5 separate regions of the Homo sapiens genome follow, and all the other regions are linked to region 4. Evidence: promoter capture Hi-C in 16 types of primary human blood cells and fetal thymus (Javierre and others, 2016). All regions are on one chromosome and are shown on one strand. The core of a region is centred on a gene start or on the middle of the fragment in contact, and the rest is flanking DNA. Distances in the headings are between cores, read along the strand shown. Region 1 overlaps MAN1A1 (mannosidase alpha class 1A member 1). Region 2 overlaps TRE-CTC1-7 (tRNA-Glu (anticodon CTC) 1-7). Region 3 has its middle 1.9 kb from the start of MAN1A1. Region 4 holds the start of HSF2 (heat shock transcription factor 2). Region 5 overlaps FAM184A (family with sequence similarity 184 member A).

The links. The method cuts DNA at HindIII sites, captures the fragments that hold promoters and counts their contacts. A CHiCAGO score of 5 or more calls a contact.
Region 1: a contact is called between a fragment that was not itself captured here and the fragment with the promoter of HSF2 in region 4, in 3 of 17 cell types (naive B cells, total CD4 T cells and non-activated CD4 T cells). The highest score is 12.4, in naive B cells.
Region 2: a fragment that was not itself captured here is called in contact with the fragment with the promoter of HSF2 in region 4 in 3 of 17 cell types (total CD4 T cells, non-activated CD4 T cells and activated CD4 T cells); the score reaches 10.6 in total CD4 T cells.
Region 3: a contact is called between a fragment that was not itself captured here and the fragment with the promoter of HSF2 in region 4, in 5 of 17 cell types (total CD8 T cells, activated CD4 T cells, total CD4 T cells and 2 more). The highest score is 12.4, in total CD8 T cells.
Region 5: a contact is called between a fragment that was not itself captured here and the fragment with the promoter of HSF2 in region 4, in 2 of 17 cell types (naive CD4 T cells and activated CD4 T cells). The highest score is 9.1, in naive CD4 T cells.

The regions. Positions count from the first base shown.
Region 1 is chr6:119,334,225-119,336,924 of GRCh38, reverse strand. The region is part of intron 2 of MAN1A1 (mannosidase alpha class 1A member 1); the gene reads left to right. Among named protein-coding and RNA genes, the nearest start is that of MAN1A1, 14 kb to the left of the region's middle. The HindIII fragment of the contact is 2,233 bases long and covers 287-2,519 here.
Region 2 is chr6:125,777,567-125,780,266 of GRCh38, reverse strand. TRE-CTC1-7 (tRNA-Glu (anticodon CTC) 1-7) reads left to right here; the gene lies at 1-20. Among named protein-coding and RNA genes, the nearest start is that of TRE-CTC1-7, 1.4 kb to the left of the region's middle. RefSeq lists a silencer at 1-98. The HindIII fragment of the contact is 156 bases long and covers 1,282-1,437 here.
Region 3 is chr6:119,350,326-119,353,025 of GRCh38, reverse strand. It overlaps a transcript of MAN1A1 not described here. Among named protein-coding and RNA genes, the nearest start is that of MAN1A1, 1.9 kb to the right of the region's middle. The HindIII fragment of the contact is 276 bases long and covers 1,313-1,588 here.
Region 4 is chr6:122,398,301-122,401,000 of GRCh38, reverse strand. HSF2 (heat shock transcription factor 2) reads right to left here and starts at 1,349. Exons shown (of 13, transcript NM_004506.4): 1 at 1,171-1,349. The coding sequence starts at 1,263. RefSeq lists silencers at 904-1,023, 1,294-1,613 and an enhancer at 554-1,053. The HindIII fragment of the contact is 3,471 bases long and covers 1-2,700 here.
Region 5 is chr6:119,072,226-119,074,925 of GRCh38, reverse strand. The region is part of intron 1 of FAM184A (family with sequence similarity 184 member A); the gene reads left to right. Among named protein-coding and RNA genes, the nearest start is that of MIR548B, 4.4 kb to the right of the region's middle. The HindIII fragment of the contact is 1,135 bases long and covers 814-1,948 here.

The DNA of each region.
Region 1 (2,700 bases), core at 154-2,653, 3.1 Mb after region 4:
TTCATTTATTTTCTTTATTACCTAGAATACTGGACAGTATTTAATAAGGGTTGCCATTTTTCTTGTATTTCAATTTTATACAGGATATACCTAGAGTTGGTTTTGTTTTGTTTCCATTTTGGCAAAATTTTTTGAGAGATAAAGGTGTCTTAATGAGTAATGCTTACAGTACCACACTAAAATGAAAAGTCATAGGTTAGCTATTATTTTCCACTAGAGAAATCAGAATTACATAAACATGTTCCTCCCTAAGAAGGTGTGATATTTTGAGAAAGAGAAAGAAGCTTGGTTTTCTATTTCCCAATTTCATATTGTTTCTCCTGAAAAGTGCTGTGTCATATAAATAATTGCATGGTAGAGGCTCAATGAATTTTATGCATTTGTCAGTGGTCCCTTTTGCAGTTTATTCTACAGATGACTATTAATATTCCTAAAACATCACTTCTCTCGTATTGCCCAACTCAGGTTTTAATGGTCCTCCATTTCCTATAAAGTAATGATTCAGACTTCAACATGCATCAGAATCACCTGGAGGGCATGTTAAAACAGATTGCTGGTGCCGGGCGCAGTGGCTCACACCTGTAATCCCAGCACTTTGGGAGGCCGAAGGGAGGATCACTTGAGGCCAGGAATTCAAGACCAGCCTGGCCAACGTGGTAAAACCCTGTCTCTACGAAAAATACAAAAACTAGCCAGGTGTGGTGGCGTGAGCCTGTAGTCCCAGCTACTCGGGAGGCTGAGGCAGAAGAATCACTTGAACCCAGGAGGCGGAGGTTGCAGTGAACCGAGATTGTGCCACTGCACTCCAGCCTGGGTGACAGAGTGAGACTCTGTCTCAAAAAAAATAATAATAAAAAAATTTTGAAAGCCTGGAGTTTCTGATTCAGTAGGCCTGGGTGGGCCCCAGAATTTGCATTTTTAGCATGTTGCTAGGTGATACTGATGCTTCTGGTCCAGTGACTTCAGCTAGAAAAACATTTTGCTCTAGAATGAAGTCACAGTGAAGTCACAAATGTTTAGCTTGGCATCCGTAGTCTTCTGTAAATCTGCATCAGTTTATTTGTTGAGTTGTATCTCTGTTACTTCCCAGGAAGGACTGTGCTTCCACAAAACTTACATAGTTACTATCTCCAGAACACATGTCGTTTAGGATTTCACCTTGTTTACTTTATGGTTCTCAAAAGGAGAGTCTTCTCACTTGCTCAAAATCCATGTCCTCATGAAGCCCTCTCTACACTCTCAACCTTCACTGATTTCTCCCTTCTCCAAATTCCCATGTTATTGATTATTTCTATCTTTGGCCTGTGTGTCACTGATTTTGTGTGCATATATGTTATCTTTCAAGTAGATTTCAGACACCCTAGAAGTGGGGACACCTTTTTTATCTCATAGGTCCGTGGCCCAGAATTTGACAATAAAAGGCAATTCATCCTAAATGTAACCCAGATTAAGTATATCAACAAAATGTTTTATAAATGTGAGGCAGTATGGCAGAGTAGAAACACTTCTGTCCTCCCTTTCCACGCCTTTGAAATGGAGTTAATAATTCCTCTTTTTCAGAGTTGTTGTAAGAATTAAAATAGAAAATGTATGTGAATCTCTCAGCGCAATGCCTGGCATGTATCATTCATTATTCAATACATAGTATGTACTTACTAGCAGCTAGGAATTGGTAGGAGTGATAAGGAAAGGGGTTGGTAGGTAAATTGGATTCAGAAAGTCATTTCCAGGAAAGAAAAGTATGTTTTGGCTGCAGTATTGCTGTATTGACCAATAGCTTCTATTTTCTATTGTTGCCTCCCCTTTTAGTTGTTGTTGCCAAATTTCTCACTTCCTATGGCAGGAAAGTAAGCATTATTTTGCCTTGTTAGAATTGTTATTACACAGAAGGGATGCTCATCCTCAGGAAAACCATAGAGAGGGTGTTGAATGGAGTGGTTCCTCATTCATTCATCAGTGTCCAGTTACTTCTGACTTCTGGGCCTGCTGTCACACAACACTCAGATATGTGGGGAGGAAAGAAAGCCAGGGATAAAGAAATCTGGAGAAATACCTTCAGGGCATAGAAAGAAATAATTTTTGTGAGCTGAAAAGCTGAAAATGTTTCATTCAGAGATAACTACATGTGTAAATTTAGCTCAATAATTAGGCATATGGTGCTTTCATTTTAGGATGTATCCACCCTTTGTGATAATATCCGTTGATTATTAGAGCTGCTGCAGCTTTAACTACATTGGCAGCAGAGATTCCTAGTGCATTTAAGACAAGAATTCAAGAGTGAAATGGAAAACTGAATTAATAATTTGTTCTTGGGTGGTTTTAATCTGCTCCTTAAATGTAGTTTATGCCTGGAGGATTAGATTTGGAAACAGAACACCAACTAATGTTCTAAAAGTTTACTTCCTTTTATTGGAACATTATACTCTTAAAGATTTTCAGAAGAACATTTTGGCTGTTTTAGTCTTAACATACGAGGTACACTTAAGTTCTTATGATTCAACCTAAAACAATAGAAAGCTTTTAATCTATGATATAATTTTTAACTTTTAAAGTATTTCATGTTAGACTTCAAGGCAGGAATTGTTTAATAAAAACCAACTAATAAAAGGAAAGATATTCTTTGTTGGGCACGAGGATATTTGGGTCTCTTTTCCCAAGCTTTTTAAAATCCCCCTAGGTCTATATTTTTCAATCTTAGAA
Region 2 (2,700 bases), core at 110-2,609, 3.4 Mb before region 4:
TTCGATTCCCGGTCAGGGAAGTCTTGTTTTTCTTGACATTCGTATCCTTCATGCAATTTAGAAGTCAAGAGTTTTGTGTAGTTTTCACTTGCTGGTTGGGTTTTTTTTTCATAGTTTTTTTTTTTCTTTATAGTTTTTTTTTTCTTTTTAAATCATAAGTTTTATGTACTTTTCATTCGCTTGTTGGGGTTTTTTAATCATTAAAAATTGACCGTTTTAAAAGTTTATTTAATCTAAGGCTTAAAATACGCCATCTCTATTTACAGGTAATGTAATTTATAATCAATCAAATAACATAAAGTTCTGTGATTCTAAAATTGTATTTTTCAGTTTTTAAAAATAATTTGGATGTGTTTACAAGCAGTCAGTTAAGCCTTTGTTTAACCTTGATTTTGTTTGACTAATAAAAGAGGAAGATAGTTTTATGAGGAATAATACTTATTCAGTATCATGCTTAGAGTTAATTTTTAGTTTTTCTGTACATTAAGATTATGTACTTTGGAGATTATTTGCCTATATTGGAGCTATTCCTACTCTCATCTCTATAAATATGAGATCTTTTCTGAGATGTATGGTTGGACATAGCTAGTTTATTGTGTTTTAATAACCCATTTAGTTAATGTTTTTTTGGCTAACTTTAAATTTTCTCTAAGAGATTTACACAAATATGGTAAATGTGTTACATCCAGAGTATCAATTCCCACTATATAAACCATATAGGCCCCTCAAAAATGCACCTACTTATCATTAGTAATTCCCACATTCAGGGTAAAGTAGAATTCTGGGAGTTCCTCAAAGGAAAATATGGCAATGTTGGAGTCAAAAAAAGAAAAATAGTGTTATATAGACATTAAGGGTTTTTTTGATCCTGAAAGTTCTAAACCATCCTAACCTTTGCCACTTACTGAGCTGTTGGATTTTTTTTTTTTTTTTTTTAATTTGAGACGGAGTCTCTCTCTGTCGCCCAGGCTGGAGTGCAGTGGCGCGATCTTGGCTCACTGCAAGCTCCGCCTCCCGGGTTCATGCCATTCTCATGCCTCAGCCTCCCGAGTAGCTGGGACTACAGGCGCCCGCCACCAGGCCCGGCTATTTTTTTTTTGTATTTTTTGTAGAGACGGGGCTTCACCGTGTTAGCCAGGATGATCTCGATCTCCTGACCTCGTGATCCTCCTGTCTTGGCCTCCCAAAGTGCTGGGATTACAGGCGTGAGCCACCGCGCCCGGCCCCGCCTTTTTTTTTTAAGGAGAAATTTCATCATAGCATAGAAACAGACTGAAAGCTTGATTGCAACTAAAATGAGTTTGTTTTGCTCTCCTTTTAGCTGTGCTGAGACTGATTGGGAAGAGGAGAATGCTGAGTACTTAATGTTCCAGGAAGTCCATTGTGATAGGTGCCATGGGGTTAAGAAAAGATGTGATTTTTGGTGCTTAAGAAGCTTTCACTTCATTGGATAATTAAGACAAAAATATGTTGCCACCATTAACAAAAATAATTGGCACCATTCATTGATTATTTGCTGCATATCAAGTACTTCAAATAATCACGATATATGGTAAAAGAAGGGAGAAGGAAGTGAGCACTAGAATCAAAATAGAGCTTGAAAACTGTTTTTCAAGCTGGACCTAAAGGCTAGAAGTATCCGGAATGCCTGAGAAAAGGAGAATGGACATTGCTTCTAAGGGATCCAGGATGACCATGGTCTAGTATTTGCAACGAAAAGGACTAACTGTGTCAGACTGGCTGTAGTAGGGAACCTGCGCTGGGGAACAGTGGAGATGAGGGCAGATAGGTGACTGCAGCTAGATTATGGAAGACCTTAAGACAAGTCAAGAAATTACGAAGGGAACCCAAGAGGACTCGATGTCTGATAGGATATAAAGGGTTAAGAATAGGGAGGAATCAGTTATGAATCCTTGATTTGTTCTGTGTGGCTAGTAAAACTGGGGTGGCATTAAAAGTAATAGGAAGGTTGAGATGGAGAAACTGATGAAGAAGAGAAGGTAAGTTCAGTTTGAGCCCCACAGAGGCAGCACAACTAAATGTGGTTGGAAATACAGAATGGGAATTTTGGTGATAATTAGGGTAGAAGGGAGAGATTTTGGAGCCATTAACTTAAAAGTTTGAGAAGATTTGAGCTCTTCCCAAAGAAAAAACCTATAAAAAGGAGAGAGGACCAAGGAAAAAACCCAGGAGAGTATACATTAAAGAAGAAGGGGAAGAGGTAGAAAATGGTGAAAGAGTAGTCAGAGAGGGGCCGGGCGCGGTGGCTCACGCCTGTAATCCCAGCACTTTGGGAGGCCGAAACGGGAGGATCATGAGGTCAGGAGATCGAGACCATCCTGGCTAACACGGTGAAACCCCGTCTCTACTAAAAAAAATACATAGCCCTTGTGGTGGTGGGCGCCTGTAGTCCCAGCTACTTGGGAGGCTGAGGCAGGATAATGGCGTGAACGTGGGAGGCGGAGCTTGCAGTGAGCCAAGAAGATCGCACCACTGACCTCCAGCCTGGGCGACAGAGAGACTCTGTCTCAAAAAAAAAAAAAAAAAAAAAAAAAAGGAAGAGTAGTCAGAGAGGTAGTAATAAAAGGATAAGAGAGCTTCAAGAAGGAAGTAGCGGTGAAGAAAAGAGCATACTGTAAAGAGATCAAGGAGAAAACGGAGGAGATTAAGCACAGTCAGATGGTAAGACAGTGACTGTTG
Region 3 (2,700 bases), core at 201-2,700, 3.0 Mb after region 4:
ACATTTGGATTTTTTAAAAAATAAGAGCAAAGACCTATTGTGACCTAGAAAATCTCCCATTAAAAGATTTTATCAGAAATCTAACTTGTTGGAGAATTTCAGTCATTATTTACTGTACATGTAGATTAAATTCATTTCTTTCACTAGATTAAGTTTTATTTAAAGTAAGAGAACAAAAATCCTCAAAAGGATTCTTCCACAAACTTCTAACTAGTACTGCCTAGAAACTTCCTAAGAAATGTTTTTGCACTTCAATTTTTGAGAACTTATAATTTTATAAAAATATAAATTTATCAGTTTTATAAAAATATTGCCAATTTTTCCTCTGTAAGTCTGCTCATAATTATTACTATATTTCATTTTAGGCATGTTAATGTAAAAATTAAATCTACCTTTTGGTAATTTCTTTTGAAAGTAGAAAAATCTAAGCAACAACATTTATTTGGGGATTTCTTTGTAGTGTTTTGTGGTATCACTGATGATCAGGTTTTTAAAAAATTACTTGATTCAAAGATATAATCTTGAAACACAAAAATTTACAAATTATCAAAGAAATACACAAAAACATTAAGTATTGAAAAAGGAAAATGTAAGAATTAAGTTTGCAAGCAAACCTGCAAAAATTACAAGAGAGTTATACTTCAAAAGGACTGGCTGGCCAAATAAAAAAACATAGCAAGTATTTTTTTAAAAATCCCACAAAATTACTAAGGTTCTTAGGTTTACATTAGACCATCCATAATGAGAAACAGCAATTTCAGCACTATCATTGCATTCATAAAGATGGTGACATTACCTTCAGGTAGATGTGGCTAGGGAGTCTTGACTTAGGGGACAAAGTCAAGGTTTCATTACTTAAAAGACAAGAACCAATCACCTTTATTTTTATCTCAGGGTACAAAGTACTTTTTTCAATGGTAGAATGTCAAGTGCTTTGTAGTACTGAAATCAGAGGAAAGTGTCCGATTTTGCTTCTACAAAATGCACAATTTTACTTGTTGACTATTTTCTACTCCTCCCTTACCATGAGCACACAGGGCTTCATGTGATTATTTTAAAGAGGATGCATAATTCGATTGCTATGCCTCTTCAGATACCTTCTTTGTGAATTTTTCAAATTTGCTCTGGCCCAAATATTGGTGTTCCTATATAGTTCTTATCCCACCTAATGTACACAGACACCCTTTAATATGTACCTATAATCAACCACCCATGTTAACTTCTTGTTTAACATATTATCAAAGCCAGGCTGCAAGTATAACCCTGTCATTTAAGAAATACGGAAAATAAGAAAAAAATCTTAAAATAAGCTTCATGATGAACTTAAAAAGAATAGTTACTTTAAAAGATGTAGAAACAACATAGATAAATTTAAAGTTTTTAGGGGAAAAAATCCTTAAACCCACGTACTAAATTTTTAATATTTCCACTACAGAAGTTAAATGCCCAAACTGATTTGGTATCAAAATTAAAGTGTCAGAAATAGAATTAAGTTATAACTTTTATTTATCACCATTTTAACATATACTTAAAAGTGGAATTTATTGTTTTGCTGGAATACTTAATAACATTAATTTGAAATAAAGCTTCTAAATATTTCCGGGGCTATAATTCCATTCTTACAACATAATTTTTAAAATAATAAATCATTCCAAAAAAGGATGATCATAAAGAGATTAGCGTTTGGGGTAGTTAACCCAGTTCCTATTTATCTATCCATTCAAGAGGTAACTCAGTTTTAAGGATGTTGTTAGAAACATTATTTCACAGTGATTCAAACCTTTCAGCCTATGCACAACCTACAAATGCATAATCGTTTGAAATAAAAATTGCCTTTCCATCATTAAAGAAAAATCATCTTTGTTTTCTTTTTCAGTCCTTCTGAACTTATTACCCTGCTTGGATATGCTGCACTCTTCTGGACATAGAATTTCATAGCAGGTATCAAAATAACCAAGCCATAAAGCCAGCTTTATCAAACAATAATTTCCTATTAACAAGAACTTTGAGTGTATTACTCATTTTACACAAAACAAGTAGACGACAAATAATGATGGTTAAAATTAATAATTAAATGATTAAATGAAAACTAGTAAGGATTTCTGATTACTTTTCTACTTTCTCATACAGCTTAACACCTGGAAACAACTGTACTGGAGCCACCTTCCCGAAAGGTGCCAGCTGTTTCCTTTGTCTTAAGCACAAACAGAACTAATGTCACATTTCCAGAGAAGGGTAAGGATGAAATAAGGCGACTACAAACCAGCTTTCAGAAATGCGAAGTCAGTCAACGTTTTCCTCTCTGATAACCCCTTATTTGTGGAGCAACAGGAGAATTACAACACATTTTGGAAAATAATTTCTATTGGACCAACTCCTCACTTCGCTGGAAGTAGTCGGATCCAAGACTTAATTTCAACACAGTGTTCGACTTATTGCTTGAAGCTACCGCAGCATAAAACTCGTCTTCGAATGGAAAATTTGACCAACTTCTATGAGGTAAATGAATAGTGAAAGTACGGGTGGGCGGGAGAGACATACAAGTTTTTTCGGTTTTTTGTTTTTTGGGGGAAGAAAGGGCGCATACGAAAAAAGTCCTAAGCAAGCACAGAACTGTGTCTCTTAGGATGTAAAAGGATGTTATACCAGAGAGCTCAAAAGCTCCCAGGGTCACGGCTCCCCTAACCGAGGGACTTGGGG
Region 4 (2,700 bases), core at 100-2,599:
TGCTCACTCCCTGTTAAGACAAAAGTAAATAAAACTAAGAGTTCCTATAATAGGAGAACAGGAAAGAAAGGAGGACGGGAGATAACATTTACTCAGCACTTAACAGGTGCCAGGCACTATGCAGGTAGTTTTCACTTATTCTTCTCAAGAACTACACATATGAAAATATGCCTCAATAGGTGATCATCTACAATAAGAGTTAACCACTTTCCTTCATAAAAATGATTCCAACAGCCTAGGAGTGTATTCTAATGCACATGCACTGTGGATGTAAATAATCATTCTGCCTAAAATCTTGTATTTGGGACTGATATAGGTCTTGGGTCACCTAGGCAACCCATCCATCTTATGAAAGATTTAACTTAGGCCAGACAAGATAAAGGGCTGGACTAAGGTCATGCTTGTTTAGAAGCAGAGTTGAGATCAAACCAATAATCAACACATCGATATGCCCCTCTGCTGGTAACTGTTCAGCGAAATTTAGTAACTACTAAGTTACCACCTATTAGTACTTTATTAAAACAATCCTAATAATCCCATTATACAAATAGCACAGAATCTCAAAAGAATAATTTGTTAATTTCTATATATTTTTAAAACCAACTGATAAGCAGTAACCTGCGTTTGAACGTATGTCTATTGCCCTGACTGCTCTCCACATAAAGATGCCAGATGCAAAGCAATGTTGGGGGAACTGGGGGTGATCGGTCGCTGAGGTAAAGATCGCCTCCTATAAAGCCCCACGTTGATGATCCTGGCCCTGGGCTCCCTGTCCCCTCCGCGATTTGTAACCCCTGAGCCGGGCGGGAGGACGGAGGATGAGTGTGCAGTAAAGAGGCTCCCGCGCCCTCGGCTCGCCGATTCCCCTCGCGACGCCGGGCCGGTTCCGAACGCGGACCGGACCGTTAAGGGGCTGCCTGGGCCGCTACGCCCCGCGCGGGCCGCCCCTCCCCCACCGCGGCCTGAGGAGAGCGGCGCTGCCGGCCGGGCCCCCGCGGCTCCCCGAGCGAACAATACAGGGGGTCCCCCGCGAGGCTGAACGCCAAGGCCCCGCACCGCGGGCCTCGCAGACAGCGTCGAGCCGCAAGGCCGCGAGAGACCACCCCGCAGGAGAGCGAGTGAGGAGGCGGTTATTCAGGGGGTTCAGAGGCCGCCGTGGCCTGACCGTACCTGGCTCCAGGTGATGAACTCGTTAGTGTGGGTTTCCTCCACAAGCGTCCACAGCTTGCTGAGGAAAGCCGGCACGTTCGAACTCTGCTTCATTGTTAACGCGGCGCAGGGATTCCAAATTCTACACCCGAACGCGGTGGTAGCGGCGGCGGCAGCTACGGCAGCAGCTCCCCGAGAACGCCCACAACGCAGGCGCAGCAGATCTTGGTCCCCGCCCCCCCAACCCCGCCAGGCGCGCGGCAAGGCCGAGAGGCCGGGCGGCCGCACGTGACGGACAAGTCTCCGCGCTCCGCCTGTGCGCGCAGTGGTTCCGCGCCTGTCCCGTCCCTGGCCAATCCCAGGAGCCGACTGCACGACAGAGAAAAGCGATTGGCTGCTGCTGACATGAAGGGGGTGGGAGCAGAAGGGGGTGGGAGCAGAAGGGGGCGCTGCCTCCTCATTTGCCTTTTATACAGAAGCCTTGATGGTAGCAGACTTAGGCTTGGGAGACCGTGTTTGGATGTTTCACGTGGAAACAGCTTATGGTTTCTGGGCTGTGGCTGGGAGGCTACAGAAACCCTTCAGGGCCTTTGAGTCATAAGTTTGGCAGGCAAAGTGTGGTTTGCACCAGTTTAGAGAAAGGATCCATTTGCATAAGGAAAAAACCAGCTCTCAAGCATGATGTGCTAGGCCCCAAATTGAAATTGTCTTAAAAATAATGAAACTTGTTCTTACATTTTCATTGGGAGAAAAAGCCCTCTTTAAAATATGTTTATCAAAAAGAGCAGTTTAAATAACTCACTCTCGATTACTTAAAACTGTAAACCAGGAACTGCAATTGATATATCATGTGCTGTTTTTAATCCAGTCATCAAGTGCCTACTCTGTACCCAGAATAAAAAGAAATAGACTCATTTGTACTATTTTAGTTAATTAAAATAGTTTTTCCTGCGTATACTTTACAGATATAGTCTTTTTTGCCTAAGAGATTGGTATAGTGGAAAAAACAATGGAAAAGGAGTCAGTAGATCTCAGTTTAGATAAAGCCTCTTGGACATTTTTCTGTATATTAAAATACACTGGTTCTGTCATTTAGAACAATTCCTTAGCCACCAGTGCCAGTTTTTTCCATTTCTTGACTGGGAATAAGATCTATCTTTTTACCCACTAAGAGTGTCTTTAATACTATAATGGCTGTGCAAATGCTTTGAAAATATGAAGTCTACAAAATTCGACTTTTTTTTTTTACAAAAGTCAGCATGTGAAGGCAAAAACTTACAAACAAGTCAGAGATAACATACAAAACTTCAACATAGGATTGGTTTACTTCTTGGGTGAATGTAAAATAGTACATTAAATATATATCTATCATTTAATGGAAGATATATGTATATCTCTTCCAATGAGCAAGTATTTAGTGAATGCTGCCTTTGTGCTCAGCACTGGGATGTTGGCTGAAGCAAAATCAGATATATGGAGGCATGCATGTGATAGAGGAAGTAATATTTGATGAGCCCTTATATATGCCAAGGGCTTTACATATATTATTGA
Region 5 (2,700 bases), core at 132-2,631, 3.3 Mb after region 4:
TATGTAAGGGAGACTTTGGAAAATGTTACAGATACAGCAGGGAGCAAGACACAGTCCCTGCCTTTTAAAGGAAGTCTAGCATATTTGGGTCACTCGTGTCAAGTTTTAAGAATTAATATTAGATTCTTGAGCTACATTATGGCAAGTTTCTGCAAATGTTAATGGCTGAACTATCTCAAGATAGGCAGTGAAGCTGGATGGATTCAATTATGTTTTATAAGACCACATTTGTATACTTCTGTGCTCTCCACTGTGTTGACTTTTCAGGATATCAGGTTGAAAAGCAGGCCTTGTGGGATGTAATTATAAAAGCTTTTTTTTTGTCACTTTCAAATTACTTTTTTTCCCTTTTTGTCTCTTTCAATTTACTCTTTGAGACTGGTTCATCCTCTTTCATGGGTTAACTTAATTTTTCTGGTTGCTTTTAGATAATACAAATCATCCTTCAGTAACAAAGTCACAAAAGTCTCAATTTGATTATTAAAATTAAAATGCCCAGTACCAACAAGTAAAAACTGCAGACCAAGCCTGAAATAAAGATGAAGCTTCTCCCTTAACTGGTCTCTTGCTCTGTCTCTTGCAAGGGGGAAACCAGTAACTAGGGAAGGGGGTATTATTGCCTTTTTACTTCTTACCTGGTTTTTCTACTCTTCCTGCTTTGTCTTGCCAGTTCTGGTTTCTCACCCTTCCAAAGTTGGTCAAGGAAGAAGTGAAAAGAGTAAAGAGGAGCAGCAAACTTTTACTTGATTAGTGAAGAAGCTAGCTGGTGATCTAGTTTCAGTGCTTTTGTAGCCGTTGCAGATGTTTAAAGCTTATTCTTTCACTGGTGAATCTTCTACCTCCCACCTCAGTGGCTCTAGATTTTCACCTCAATTCCTTGACAGTGAGAATTCCCTTATGCGCTGATTGGTTGCTTACTCCTTCCTCAGCCTCTTGGAGCTAGCAGTACCTTCACCTCCACTTTGCTGAGGTCTGTGCAAACTCTAGATACCCCTCTTGCATGGACTTGTGTGATCCCACCCCAGGTTGTTCACTCTTCCGTAGAGGCCACATAGGGAGCACTCATTCTTTGCACAAACTCTGCTAGTGGTCCCAGTTCAGCCCTCTCTCTTGTTCTCACATGCCTCTTCATGCAGCTTCTCATCATTTAGATTTTCTGGGGATTAATCAGGTACCAGGTTAGCATGTTCTTCAAAGTGCTTGAGGCACATGTCAAGTTCTTCAAGTCATTCCCTCAAAGCCTTTTTCCCTAGGCTTTAGGTGTGGGACAAGCATCTTCCACCCTTCCCCCTTGAAGACACAGGCCCCTGTTACCACAGCTCTCCCCAGGGAAATCTCTGAAACCTACTCTGTAATCTTCTTGAAGCACCACCTCACTAGTGGTGGGGGTGGAAAGTAACACATCTCAGCACTCTTCTTTAGACTGCCTCTTGACATTTTCGAGAATGTTCTGGCAGCTGCTTTGGAATGTCATTTCTATCGTCTCTGGTTCTCAGCAGAAACTTCCCTTTTAATACCTTGTTATGTTAGCTGCTTATCAAATCCCTCTTTAGTTGATTGCACTTTTGATACAGAGTCTGTTTATCACTTAACTAGTATAGACATAAGTAATATATGGTACAGTGTAAGTTCCCAAACAGCAGGAAGTAGTTTATTTTGTGTTTTCTGTGCTTAGCATCAAGTCCTCTTATTTAATACCCAGCTTATGGCTCTTCTACTAAAACTGTCCTGACCAGCTACCCTTGTTGGGCTTTCCTTGCTGTGCGTTAGCATTGATTGTTGGTACCTCTTACTTGATACTTAATAATGCAAACTTGCAAATACTGTTTATTGTGTTTATAAATATACTTTGTTTTCATAATTTGACTGTAAGGTTCTCAGCTCTAGGGACTGTATCTTTTATTACATGTAACCTTAATATGAATGGTTTGCACATAGTACCAAAGCTTAATAAGTATTTACTGAAGAAGATGGTGGTCATAATGATACAGCAAGTAATTTTGTTATACAGCAGAGAAAGACAGTACTTTTTAGGAATTGTATCTGCTACTCTTCTGGGTTAATGATAGATCATTTCAGCTGAGTTAAATTATTCCTAAATATGTAAATGTTTATTGACTGCCCTTTAAACTGCTTCAAAAAGCTATTTTATTTCTTAATGTATTTTTGATGTAAAAAATACAAATATAATGTTCTTTGTCTACATTATAAGTATTTGACACTTCAGAATGTAGGTAATTAATATACTAGTTTCTTAGCAAATATAAAAAAGCCTTGTGATCAGTCATTTTATACTAACTCTGCTTTTACTATATCCAAAACCAGAATGTGTTTATATAACACCAAAACCAGTGAATTTTTCAAATAATACTATTTTCTGTACATGAAATAAATGATTTTTCACTAATTGGTTTGTTTGAATTATCTAGATACTCTTTCATAATAATTCTATATTGCTTATGACTTGAGTCTTTGAACAAGAATGGTAAGTGGCCTCATAAAACATAGCAATTGGCTGTGTTTCACCTTAGCACTAGTACATGCCAAATGCAGCATCTCTTTTTCTTTGTTACATTGTAGCTTTGCCATGCTGTTATGCAGTGGCTTGGATGTAATCTTTTAGTCATAGTGGAGTGGTTTGGATTAATTTGTTGCATTTTACTAATGGACACAAAAGCATAGTATCCTGTTAATTAACTG